Regions from separate parts of the Homo sapiens genome. Here region 2 is linked to region 1. Evidence: promoter capture Hi-C in human tissues and cell types (Jung and others, 2019). All regions are on one chromosome and are shown on one strand. The core of a region is centred on a gene start or on the middle of the fragment in contact, and the rest is flanking DNA. Distances in the headings are between cores, read along the strand shown.

Region 1 (5,967 bases), core at 1,024-3,523:
AGAAATGTCCCTTTGTCTAAAAAGTCTATGATTTAAAAGGGCTAGCCATTTTTATTGTCCCGTGAATTTCCAATTCATTAAGTTTTACTGCATAGCTATTAAAATCAATAGAACACACACTTTGAAGGTCAATAATTTAGAATAGATATTAAATAGTCTTAATATGTCCCTTTAGAATCACCTTTCTTTCGCCTCACTTTCCTGATATACTCTAAATACAACTAAAAATGATGTCTAGAAAGCAAGGAACTTCATTTTAAAATAACTTGCCTTTTTAAAAAAGATTATACATTGATATAGACCCTTCAGTGAAGTAAGTATGCAAAGTAGACATTCCACTCTGTGTAAGCAGGCACTGTAAGACTAAGTGTCTGGCAAACAGATGACTAAATCATTGGCAGAAAAAAAACAGAACTCAGGTCACAAAATAAGGAATTTAAAGTTCCAAGCAGGCCACTCACACTGATTTAAAAAAAAAAAAAAAAACCCTAGAGAACTGGTCAGCATTTACTTAATAAACAGCCAGGGTGATAAGCATACCTCAGGGTGATACAGATGAATTTTGATCTGAAACTTGACATGTATCTCCAAGGAACTGTATCACCAGGTGTTCTAAAATTTTTTTCCCAAGTCTACTATTAATGACCATGTTGACCAGATTCTTACTAACTAGCCATAAAAGCGTACTCAATGCCTGTTTCTGTCTTGCCTTCAAAGCTTGCAGTCATGTTCACATACAAAGGAACAGTAAAGGTAAAATGACCCAACCTCCTTCTCCTGTTGGTGACCACAAGGCAGCCTCTCTATTCCAAGGAGGTAATCTAAGCTTGCACAGATGGCCTAGCTCTCTGCTAATGCAGGGGTGCTGGGTTTGTTTTCAGGGTGGGTGCTGCAAAGCGCCAGGTATATTTATAGAAGGGAGCAAGACTACTATGGAGGGATGATGACAGAAGAGGAAGTTTCTTCCGCCCGGTAGAGACAGCCTGTGGAAAGATCTGGATTCCACAGCCTAGGTTCCACTCCTGACTCGTCAACTACCAGCTATGTAAACTTACTAAAACCTTTTTGGTCTGTTACCTTATGTATAAAATGCAGATAATGCCCCATTCCCTCAGAAGGTTGTCAGAATGATGAACGAGCATTGTGTATGTAAAACCTGGGACGTGATAGGCATTCAATAAATGTCGATCTGTCCTGCCCATCCTCCTGTTCACCCAGAATTGCGCCTCAAAAAATCACAAAGAGAGCCTGCAGCGTTAAAACTAAGAGGCCCAAGCTGGTTGGCAGGGAAAGAAACGACTTGGGTGGGGGCTCGCTTATTTCCTGGAGGACTTGGTTTAAAATGGAGTTAGGATATTGATCATGGACAAGACACACAGAAAAAGCACCAAGTACTAGCAAAACTGACAACAACAAAAACAAAAAGACATCCCTTTACTGTGAGCACGAAACAAACTTCGGAAGCAGCGGACATCCTGTGAACCTACTCAGTGGCCTCAATTAAAATCCCGAGGGTACCAAGAGCTAACCCAGAGGCACACCAGCCATATGCCGCCTCGTCAGTTTCAGGCCACGCCATTCCGCAAAACTGTCCGCAAGCCCTGACGGCTCTCGCGCCTCCACGCCTGGCCCAGATGCGTCTGGATGTCAGGAGCGAGCGGCAGAAGGGTACGGGGTGGGAAAGCGGAGAGGTCCGGTTGAATGTTTGAAAAACAAGGCGGTGGGTGAGGGGGCGGGGTGGAGCAATGTGGCAGAGACGCGGCCAGCGAGCCTGAGAGACCGCGGCTTCACAATGAACGAAAGGAAGAGACTGCGACAAGCGCCGGCGCCCGGTCCCCGGCGGGGACGGATGGTGAGGCCGGGGGCGCGCAGACGTGGGAAGCCGGGAAGGGGGCGCGGGATGCAACGAGTGAGTCGCTGACCAGGCAGGGAAGCCAAAGAGCTCCCAAGCAGGTGCAAAGCCCCCAAGCGAGCAGGAACGGACTGGGGATACTCACGGTGTAAAGCAGGTTGAGGGCGCACAGGCAGTTCTTGGAACACGCGAAGCCCCCGCAAACCATCTTGGAACCTGTGGTTGCCGGCAGCTGCACGTAAATTCGACTCCGGCGGAGGTTCCCTGACAGCTGCTTTGTCCTTGCCTTTGGGGCCTGGCCCAGGCGGGGCAGCAACGCAGACGTGGGTGGGGGGCCGGGGCCTGGGGCTGCAGTGCGCGGCGCGCGCGCGGCGGCGGCTCGGACCCGCTTTGGAACCTGCGGCCGCCGCAGCTGAGCCGGAGCAGGAGCCCGAGCCCCGCCCAGCCCCTTCGTCTCGCCCCGCGCGCTGATTGGCCGCTGGCAGGGAACAAAGGTAGAAATATGCAAATAAATGCGCTCCGCCGACCGGGATCCGGGAGGGGCGGAGCGGTCCCGGGGCGAGGGGGAGAGGGCCAAGGCCGTGTGGGAGGGAGCCCCAGGCCAGAGCGGCGGCCTTGGTGTAGTTTCCCCAGGAGCAGGTGAGGAGGGAGGGCGGGGCTCGGAGGAGATCCACGCTGGCAAGGAGAAATATGACAGCACCTCTGGATTCTTGGCCCTGGCAGATGACGTGGCACCATTTTGAATGAGATTTCAAAACTAAGCACCTGGCCTTGTTTGAGGGAAGGAAGGCAGGAAGCAAGTAATGAATGAAAACATGTGAAAGATTTAAAAGAGAACGAAGTAGAGGCAAATGAAAGGGAGAAAATAAGTGAAACAATAAAAAATAAAATAAAATCCCTGCTTCTCTCAGAAAATAAGATATGTGCCCTATAATTGTGACCTGGACAGGTCAGACTTATCCTACAAAGATTTGCAAAATACTAATAAACTTTATGAATACATGCATGCAAAGGAAAATCAAGAGCGGGAGAAGGTGGGGATGGTTAATAGGTCCAAAAAAATAGAAAGAATGAATAAGACCTACTATTTGATAGCACAATAAAGTGACAATCGTTAATAAGAACTTAATTGTGTATTTTAAAATAACTTAAAGAATGTAATTGGATTGTTTGTAACTCAAAGGATAAATGTTTCAGAGGATGGATACCCTATTCTCCGTGATGTGCTTATTTCACATTGCATGCCTGTATCAAAACATCTCATGTACCCCGTAAATATATACATCTGCTACGTGTCAACAAAAGTTTTTTAAAAAATTTTAAAAAGAAAATCAAGAGAGATTATTTTTGTGTTCTGGTCGTGAATTTCAATAAACTTATTTTTTCACAAAAATAACTGAAAATCTTCAAATAACTCAGACTTCACCTCAATTAATTCATTATCAGTTTACTGCTTCTCTACTATAGAAATGCATCTTGTATCCTTAATTCCTCACCTATAAATTGAGATTTTAGAAGTATGTCAAGCACTTTTTGCATAGTGGCTGGCACAGGGGAAGGCCTCAATAAATGTCAGCTAGTATTCATAGATCTGACATTTTGTAAAGGCCTACTGTGTTCCAGGCACTAAGCGAAGGCAATAAAGGTTTATTTACTTCATAGTAGTTTCTACCAAAGAAAAAGGTTTTATAAAGAGATTTGCAAGTTTACAATACTATATCTAACCTAAAGGTTCATACGGAGTAAATTATGTAATTGCAAATGCTAAATTGTATTAAATTAAATTAAACATTGCAGCTGATTAAAATAATTCGTCTTCTTAGAATTCTCTGCTCCCTCTTCCAGCCTCTCCTTCCCTCCCCTGACCCCACCATACCAACAAGACCTCATTAATTTGTTAGGCTTTCTATTCCACATTAACCTTTTATATACAGCTAGAAATATTTCAAAAACTAACCTGGAAAATGATCCTCAAACACAAACAATGCTTTGATGATGCTCAACTTTCCTTTTTAATAGCCAGAGGTTTACAAAAGATGAGGCATTGGCAGGGAAATCTATTCATTCTCTTCCCATTCCTGGGTGTCACCAACATTAGTACCACTTCAACTATCACTCAACCAACTATTGCAACTCTCTCTTTGGCTTCTGCATAATATCTTCACTATCTCCCTATAGGCTGAATCACTTTGTTTTCCCAGAGAAGTACCACCTATCAGTCAGGGTCCCAGCAAAAAGGAGATGACTCGTTCAAATAGCATAACTGAGAAGAATTTCAAAAAGGGACTATTTTCAAAAGTGTGGACAAAGTTAAAGGAAACCGGCTGGGTGCGGTGGCTCACACCTGTAATCCCAGCACTTTGGGAGGCCGAGGGTAGTGGATCACCTGAGGTCAGGAGTTTGAGACCAGACTGACCAACATGGTGAAACCCCGTCTCTACTAAAACTACAAAAATTAGCCAGGCGTGGTAGCGGGCACCTGTAATCCCAGCTACTTGGGAGGCTGAGGCAGGAGAATCACTTGAACCCAGGAGGTGGAGGTTGCAGTGAGCCAAGATCGCGCCACTGCTCTCCAGCCTGGGTGACAGAGTGAAATTCTGTCTCAAAAAGAAAAGGAAACCAACAAAGCATGATGAGGCAGCTCAGAGATAGTAAGAGCAGGAAGTTCTAATTACCCCTAAGACTAAGGGGGTGATTTAAGGGAACAGTTACAGAAGCCAGGCAAGAGCTATAGTTGTAGGAGAGTTGTCTGATAGGAGATACGGCTTTTGATAGAGGAAACAAAACAATGTCTGAAAATAGGAAAACAAATGGACATGTTGCAATTTCTCCTGATTTGGATATAGAAATTTTCAAAAGACCATTTGTTCCCACCCTAATAAGAACAAGCAGTCTGGACAACATAGTGAGACCCCATCTCTACTAAAAATTGAAAATATTAGCTGGGTGTGGTGGTGCATACCTGTAATCCCAGCTATCCCAGCTACTCAGGAGCCTGAGGGGGAAGGATTGCTGGAGCCCAGGAGATCAAGGCTGCAGTCAGCTATGATGGCGCCACAGCACTCCAGCCTGGGTGCAGACCAAGACCCTGTCTCAAAGTAAGTAAAAACAAGCTAGATAAGCTACCAAATCATACTTACAACAAAAAACTATCGAAGAACTGAGGGGCTAAAGGCACTAGAGGAACTAAAATCCAAGAAGTGATGAGACATTATTAGAGGGGGAAAAAAACTCATAGTCACTTTCATCTCTTATAGACTGGCTGTGGAAGGGAGAAACTACCTTTGAGAGGGATAAGGAGAAACTAAATGACTATTTAACCATCTTCTACTGCCCCTACCTGGACTATGTGACAGTTTATAATCCAGAGCCCCAGCTACAGAATGACTGCAACTATTTGCCAGCTCTAACCCATGGGCTTTCTTTTAAAACAAGACATATAAGCTACAAAGGCCGTGGTCAGGCAAGATTGCTGCATTAGTTCGTTTTCATGCTGCTGATAAAGACGTACCTGAAACTGGGCAGAAAAAGAGGTTTAATTGGACTTATATTTCCACATGGCTGGGGAGGCCTCAGAATCATGGTGGGAGGCGAAAGGCACTTCTTACATAGTGGTGGCAAGAGAAAAATGAGGAAGAAGTAAAAGCAGAAACCCTTGATAAACTCATCAGATGTCATGAGACTTATTCACTATCACGAGAATAGCATGGGAAAGACCGGCCCCCATGATTCAATTACCTACCCTGGGTACCTCCCAAAACATCTGGCAATTCTGGAAGATACAATTCAAGCTGAGATTTGGGTGAGGACACAGCCAAACCATGTCAAGTGCTAATAGATATTCTTCATCTCCAACTATTTCAAGGTGTATAAGCCTTCCCCAAATGCAAGATAGTGGCTAAAAGCTGGGGTAAAGTGAGGAAAAATAAGAAAAATTCCAGCAAAGCAATCTGGTTCTTTAACTCCAGGACTAACGTAGCAGCAGAAAAGAAAACTCTCTCTATGGTACACTGAAAGAGCCCTCCAATGGCTGGAATAGGATTCCACACAGGATAGCAAGAGATCTCACAAGATACAGAAAGCCAAGGATGTGAGTGGAGAGCAAAGACTATTCC
Region 2 (6,120 bases), core at 3,210-5,709, 1.8 Mb before region 1:
CCAAGAAACAGGGCCTGAGGATCATGTGGAAATGATCTTTCATTATTAAATCCATGTGAATTTCTACTTAATAACCTCAAGAACTCTTTTCTATCCATTATTCTTGTAAAAGCTCACCTTTTTCTATACTAAATCATTTAATATTGCTGACTTTTATTGTTATAATCTCTAGAATGTAGACTGCTACTCTTCATTCTGGCTTACCTTTCTTTCAAAGACATTGTCTCTGAATTTCTTATTGACTAGACAGAACATTTTTTAAAGCTCAACCTAAGACCCCCTTGTCTTTGAATTAGTTACTATGCTCCATGCTCCTATCTGACCCTATCTATCCTTTTCTCTCAGGCTGTACTTCAGGATACTGTTAAGATCTAGTTGAGTTTTTTTCTTTTTAAGTTATGTAGGCTATCCTAAGCCATAGATCCTTTGTACTACAAATAGAACTGGTGCAGTTAATTGAAGGCTTCCTGCTGCTGTATATAGTCAGCTACTGAGGTAGTTTAAAATTTCAGTCAGTTCTTATAACATGCAGCCAAAGGCAACTTTAATTTCCTCTGACACCCTTATGAGATTAGCTTTGATAATATGTTTTGGTGACACATTGACAAGAACTAGATGTTCCCACTGTTTGCATCTATTGTATTACAACTACTAGAGTCTGGATCTTCAGATGTAGGTATAAAGTAGTAATAAAGGCACAGTGTCAGTTGAAATATCTACAACAAAAGTTTCCATTGCTCATAAAATACCACCCCTTTAGTATTTTGCTATCTTTATAGGTAGTGACCATTAATTTCTAATAGTTTACTTTGCAGTGTTCACAGCATGCTTCTTTTTGGCATTGGGGGTGGTCAATGGGGAGACTTGTATATCAGTCTAATAGGAAGATGATTTAAGACACAAGAATTCTCAAATAGTAACAACTTATAAATATTGCTATACAATTCCAACAAAATAGTATAAATTACAAAGCTCATGTGATAATCCATTATGCAGACTTATTAAATTATTTCAAAATTGCTTTGTGAACCTTTCCTATGCAGATTGCTGGCTTCTTGAAGGAAATAATTATTTATGTACCCCTAAAAAGTACCTAAAACAGTGACTTTCATCTGGTGCAGAACAAATGTTGAGTAGCAGGCAAAGAGATAAAAGTGGGGAAGCCACAAGACATTATGTCTTTGGTGGTGAGAGAATGTGGACTGCTGCAGAGGCAAGACTGGCAGCAAGAACTTAAGAGTCAAGTAAGCCAGAAATCGTATGCAGAAAGTAAGTGAAACATGTACAAAAACTAGGGATTGTAATTTCTCAAAGTCAGGTAGAACCAAGGCCAAAGGATCTAAGTTCCAGGGAACAGATATACAGCATCCTATTCTGTTCTGAAAGACTAGACTTAGTTGTACAGGCAACAGTCCTATACTCAAAGAGAGGTCCCATTTCATCAAGGATTAATATATTCTATGTTTCAGCAGCATTTCTAATTTTAAAGACACAATACAGTATATATGAAAAACTGGGAACTAGGACTATATAAACAGTAGCTTTTAAAAAAAGCAAAGCAATGCAGTTTACAAAAATATGGATTGAGCAAAATTGTTTAGAATGAACATTAACATCCATAGGAATTATTTTATTAAGACTGCATGTAATTTAGAGAAGTATAGTTTAACCAAAGAATTATATTTATTTTAAGAATACTCACACAGTAATTTTAAAGATTTATCTTGTATGATCACCAAAATGATTAAGAAATTTCAAGTAGAAAAGGACAAAAGATACAAAATCCTTGGTATTTTTAGGTACTTTAAAATATTTAACGCAATTAGATTTTTTTCATCAGTTACTATTTTTTTAAGTCGCCAATATTATTTGTTCTAGTGTTATATCTGGTCTCTATCCAAGTCATTACATGTTTTTTCAGCTGTCAACACATTTGCTCCAAAATTAAATTTATCAAATAATTAGTAATTATTTTCCTGTAAAAGCAACTGAGGAAACACATTATTGCATGGAAATCTATGAGGCTTTACTGATTCAGACTGATTTATTAGGATTTTTCTAGTTTGTAATGAATAGCATACTAAAAAAATTAAATCCATTACTATTATTAAATCTTAAAATGATTTTAAAGTCTCATAAGATTTCTTGGGTAGTATATTAAAATCATTATACTACATTTAGAACAGCAGTATTTTCCTTGCGTATACATATTTTTCCATATATATACTTATCTGTAATGTGTGTGTGTGTGTGTGTGTGTGTGTGTGTGTGTGTGTATGTCACTAAGTTTTATTTCAAAATCGTCTACCCAAAATCTTTTACACAGGCTCTCCATCTACTCTTCAACTCAGGGGTTTGGGAGGTAATAATCCATTAGGCAGTGCTATATAACTCATATCCACTCACTCCAATTCACTCTCTCAATCTCTCTGTATCTCTCAATCCCTAGAAGAGAGACAGAGTTAAGAATGGGAAAATATATATTCCTATCCTCTTAATCTTCCTTTGCCCCAAACATAAACTTTATTTTCAATAAAATTTTTGTTTTTAAACGTTATGCTATTGGTGTTAGATTTAAATATCTTGCAGCCACAAAACATAATATGTTGCTATCCTGAATCCAACTTTTGTACATGTTGTATGATTGTCTTTACGTGGACAAACTACTAATAATAGCAGAGAGTGAGCACCCCTCTCAACTACAGCTGACTGCAGGCCTCATCACAAAGTCGATGGCTGAAGCAATTTCACTCCCCTAAATGAGAAAAAGCAATAACCCACATCTGAAATTTACAGCTGAGGAGTAATTATGAGTTTAAAATCCCTGCAATTCTTGTTGGAGACTATAGTTAGAGTTCTCTTAGAGTATTAATATACAAAGTTGTTAACTTTCAGTCCCTACAAGAAATATGGCAGTTAATTACATGAATTATCATGCTCACATTCACTACACAGGTAAATAGATGCTATCTGTGTAGATATGAATGTATGCCAAGGCCCAATCTCTATATACCTTCCATACTTGAGTACCTATCCTGAGAATAGCTAACCCAGCCAGATGAAGAAGTGCTTCTTTCCCCTCTATGTTTTCATAGTGTAAGGTTTTCCTACTCTCAGTGTTGCTCTACACTTCATTTTGTGATAGTCAATCAATGTTACCTACCAAGCTCCACGCTTATTCTGCCAGTCCAGGTGAATAGCAAGACAAGCAATGGGAAGCAGGGCGGAGCGGGGAGGGGGAGGTGGGGGAGGGCGGGGTCTACATTTAAATCTCCTCATCTGTCTCTTGTGTAATTCCTCACCTTAACAATCCTTCTCCAATCCTTTGCTGAAAATCTTACCTTCATAAAAATTACCTACTCTAACTACTCTATGTGATGGTGCACCTTTCTCTCCCAACTCATGAACCACCTTTCTCTGCCCTACCTTTTGTTCATCTAACAGCACCATTTCTAACCAATTACATAATTATGTACATTTATAATTTATTATCAGTCTCCCAACACACACACACATATACATGTGCAAACAGTGTAGATTTCACATTCCACAAGGGCAAATATATAAGGTTGTTTTGCTCTGTCATCTATTTTGGCACGAAGATAATGTCTGGCACATAAGAGACACTCAAAAAATAATTAATGAATGAATAATGGCAACACATCTACCCAGTTATGAATGTGGAAATCTCAGACTCTGAATTTGTCCCTTTACCTCTTGCATGAATTCCCAATTTATCTCTTTCTGGTCCTTCCAGTTCACTCTTACTATTCTCTCCCTATTCCTTGCTGGGCACTTCTAGTTAATAGTTAGAGGTTATGTGATAATTACACAACCCATTTTAAGGAGTGTCCCATCCTTTATACAGCAGCTAAAGTTACTTTTCCAAGAAGTATTTCTGATCATGCAGCTCTTCTTAAAATCCTTTAGAAGTTCAAAGTCACTAGCTTTGCATGGAATTAAAGGTCCTTAATCATCTGTCTCCTGCCTGGTTTGCAGTGTCATCTCCAGCCATGGCAACATTATAGATCATGTCCTCCAACCATCTTCAAAAACACTGAACTCCCCTTCATTTATTTCCTTTGAAAGGCTTCCCAGGCCTTCTCAATATTGCAAAGTCTAGTTTTAGCACCTATTCTCTCATGTTTACTTTGCCTTTTTCCTCCACTCTAGACAATGTGCTCTTGGAAGCAAGACACTACATCATTTACTTTGGCCTAAATACAGTGGACATCCATAAATGCTTGTTAATTAAAGTTATTCAGCCTCTTTGAGCTCAGTTTCCTCACTTGTTAAATGATTTTTACCACCTACAAAGAGGATTCCTGGGAGAAACAAATAAAACATTATACATTGAAAATTCATAGCACTTAATGGTCACTGAATGTTATTAATCCTTCTTAAGACATATCATGGGCTCCATTTCAATTACCTCACCTACAGCGCTTAAATAAAAAATAGACAGGACAAGAAATAAGAGAGGCATGTTTGGTTTGTTTGCTCATTAGATGTTTTTTTTTTTGTTTTTTGTTTTTTGTTTTTTTTAAAAAAACCACCCTGCTTTTTTTTTTTCAGTATTAACAATTGAGCTTTATGATGTAGAAGCTAAGATACTCTGTCATGTCCAGTTATATGCTTGGAAAGAAACTGGACTGGAATTCATGATTAATCCTCAGGATTGAGACAAGAAATGAAAATGTGGCCAGACAGCTAGGGGTGCACTCTTAGCATATTGTTGGGAGGCCCTGGCTCCTTAAGAGTTTCCCAGCACGGAGCTTTAGTCCTCTCCATCCCTGTCCTTTCTTTGTTAAAACGTCTATCCCCACATCTAAAGAGCACTTACTAATCAGGTATCTTTTGGTTTAGTCTTTCAGAGTGTGTGGCTGTTAGTTCTGAATGGCCCTAAGTGCTTTTTTGTACTTAGTGGAGCCAACTTAGCCATTCACAGAGAAGCAATCTCTCTATAAATGAACAGATTTTCACACGTGGGCTGTAATATATGCATAACACATTTCTCGCGGTGTTAATTTTGGTCTAACATCCTCCTGTTGGTCTTGATTACCTTGGAGACTTACATCCTGTCTTCTGTATATATGTAGTTGTTAGTCACTTCTACTAAGTTGTCTCACCACCATTTCTCAAGAATGATAACAGAAGACACAATATTTCAATAACTGATTTTTCCTTTCAACAAATGTTCATTCAACCTCCTGTTTCCAGACATCGTACTAAGGCTTAGTCAAATCTAAACCTCGTGTAAAACTCTAAAATGCTGTAAAGGTCCAGCTAACTTTGTAGTAAAAATAAATGGAATCATTTCAGAATATTAATTGAATGTTTTTTTAAAAACAATACTAAGTAAAATGTAAATCTGAATATAGGTTCACTTCAAATTTATTATCGTTTTTCTAAAAACTGGAAATCCTAGACTGTTGTTTATTATTAGTCATATTATTGATATGGCTGCAAGTCAAACATAATCTGAATTGAACGTATCTTGAGAAAACAACAGCATACGAATAAATATGGTGAGACAGTATGGTGATAAATGCCATTTGGGATAGCATATTAATGGTGAAAAAATAGATAGCAATTTTTTAATTGGGAGTATTAGAAGCTTTATCCATTTTGCTTATTTTATTCATGGTGTGCAAATCAAATAGATGGACGACTGGACACAAATTCTGTGTAAATGATCTATATTGTGACAAATCGCAAGGCATCTGGTTAAGTGAGATATCTCCCTTGGGAAATAAAACGAAACAAGAAGTGTTTTTCTTCTTAAAAATCTGTACCCTGGTAGATAGGATCCAACATAAAATTAAACATCTCATCTAACTTTTCCAATGCCATGTTTCCAAAAGGAAATTACATTAAATTTGTCCATTCAAAATGCAAAAAGCAAGACATCCAAGAATGAGGTTTGTAGCAGAATGTAATTTTAAAGACATGATTTTTCTCCATTACTGGAGATATCAAACATTTTAAAAGCCTGTTCTTTCCTAATTGGATTCCAGATCATTATTTTTTTGGCCAAAAAAGAAAGGTTTTCTGCATTCTTAAAATAATTAGGCAAGATTTCAAATCAAATTATCCAATTTCAAACCTCTATTTTTCTCT

Evidence for each region. The method cuts DNA at HindIII sites, captures the fragments that hold promoters and counts their contacts. A contact is called where the count stands out against the background at its distance.
Region 2: a contact is called between a fragment that was not itself captured here and the fragment with the promoter of TSPAN13 in region 1, in 1 of the 25 tissues and cell types used here (dorsolateral prefrontal cortex).

What each region holds. Positions count from the first base shown.
Region 1 is chr7:16,750,061-16,756,027 of GRCh38, reverse strand. TSPAN13 (tetraspanin 13) reads right to left here and starts at 2,273. Exons shown (of 6, transcript NM_014399.4): 1 at 1,998-2,273. The coding sequence starts at 2,060. The HindIII fragment of the contact is 15,712 bases long and covers 31-5,967 here.
Region 2 is chr7:18,521,020-18,527,139 of GRCh38, reverse strand. The region is part of intron 2 of HDAC9 (histone deacetylase 9); the gene reads right to left. Among named protein-coding and RNA genes, the nearest start is that of HDAC9, 28 kb to the right of the region's middle. RefSeq lists a silencer at 4,894-4,973. The HindIII fragment of the contact is 5,725 bases long and covers 1,597-6,120 here.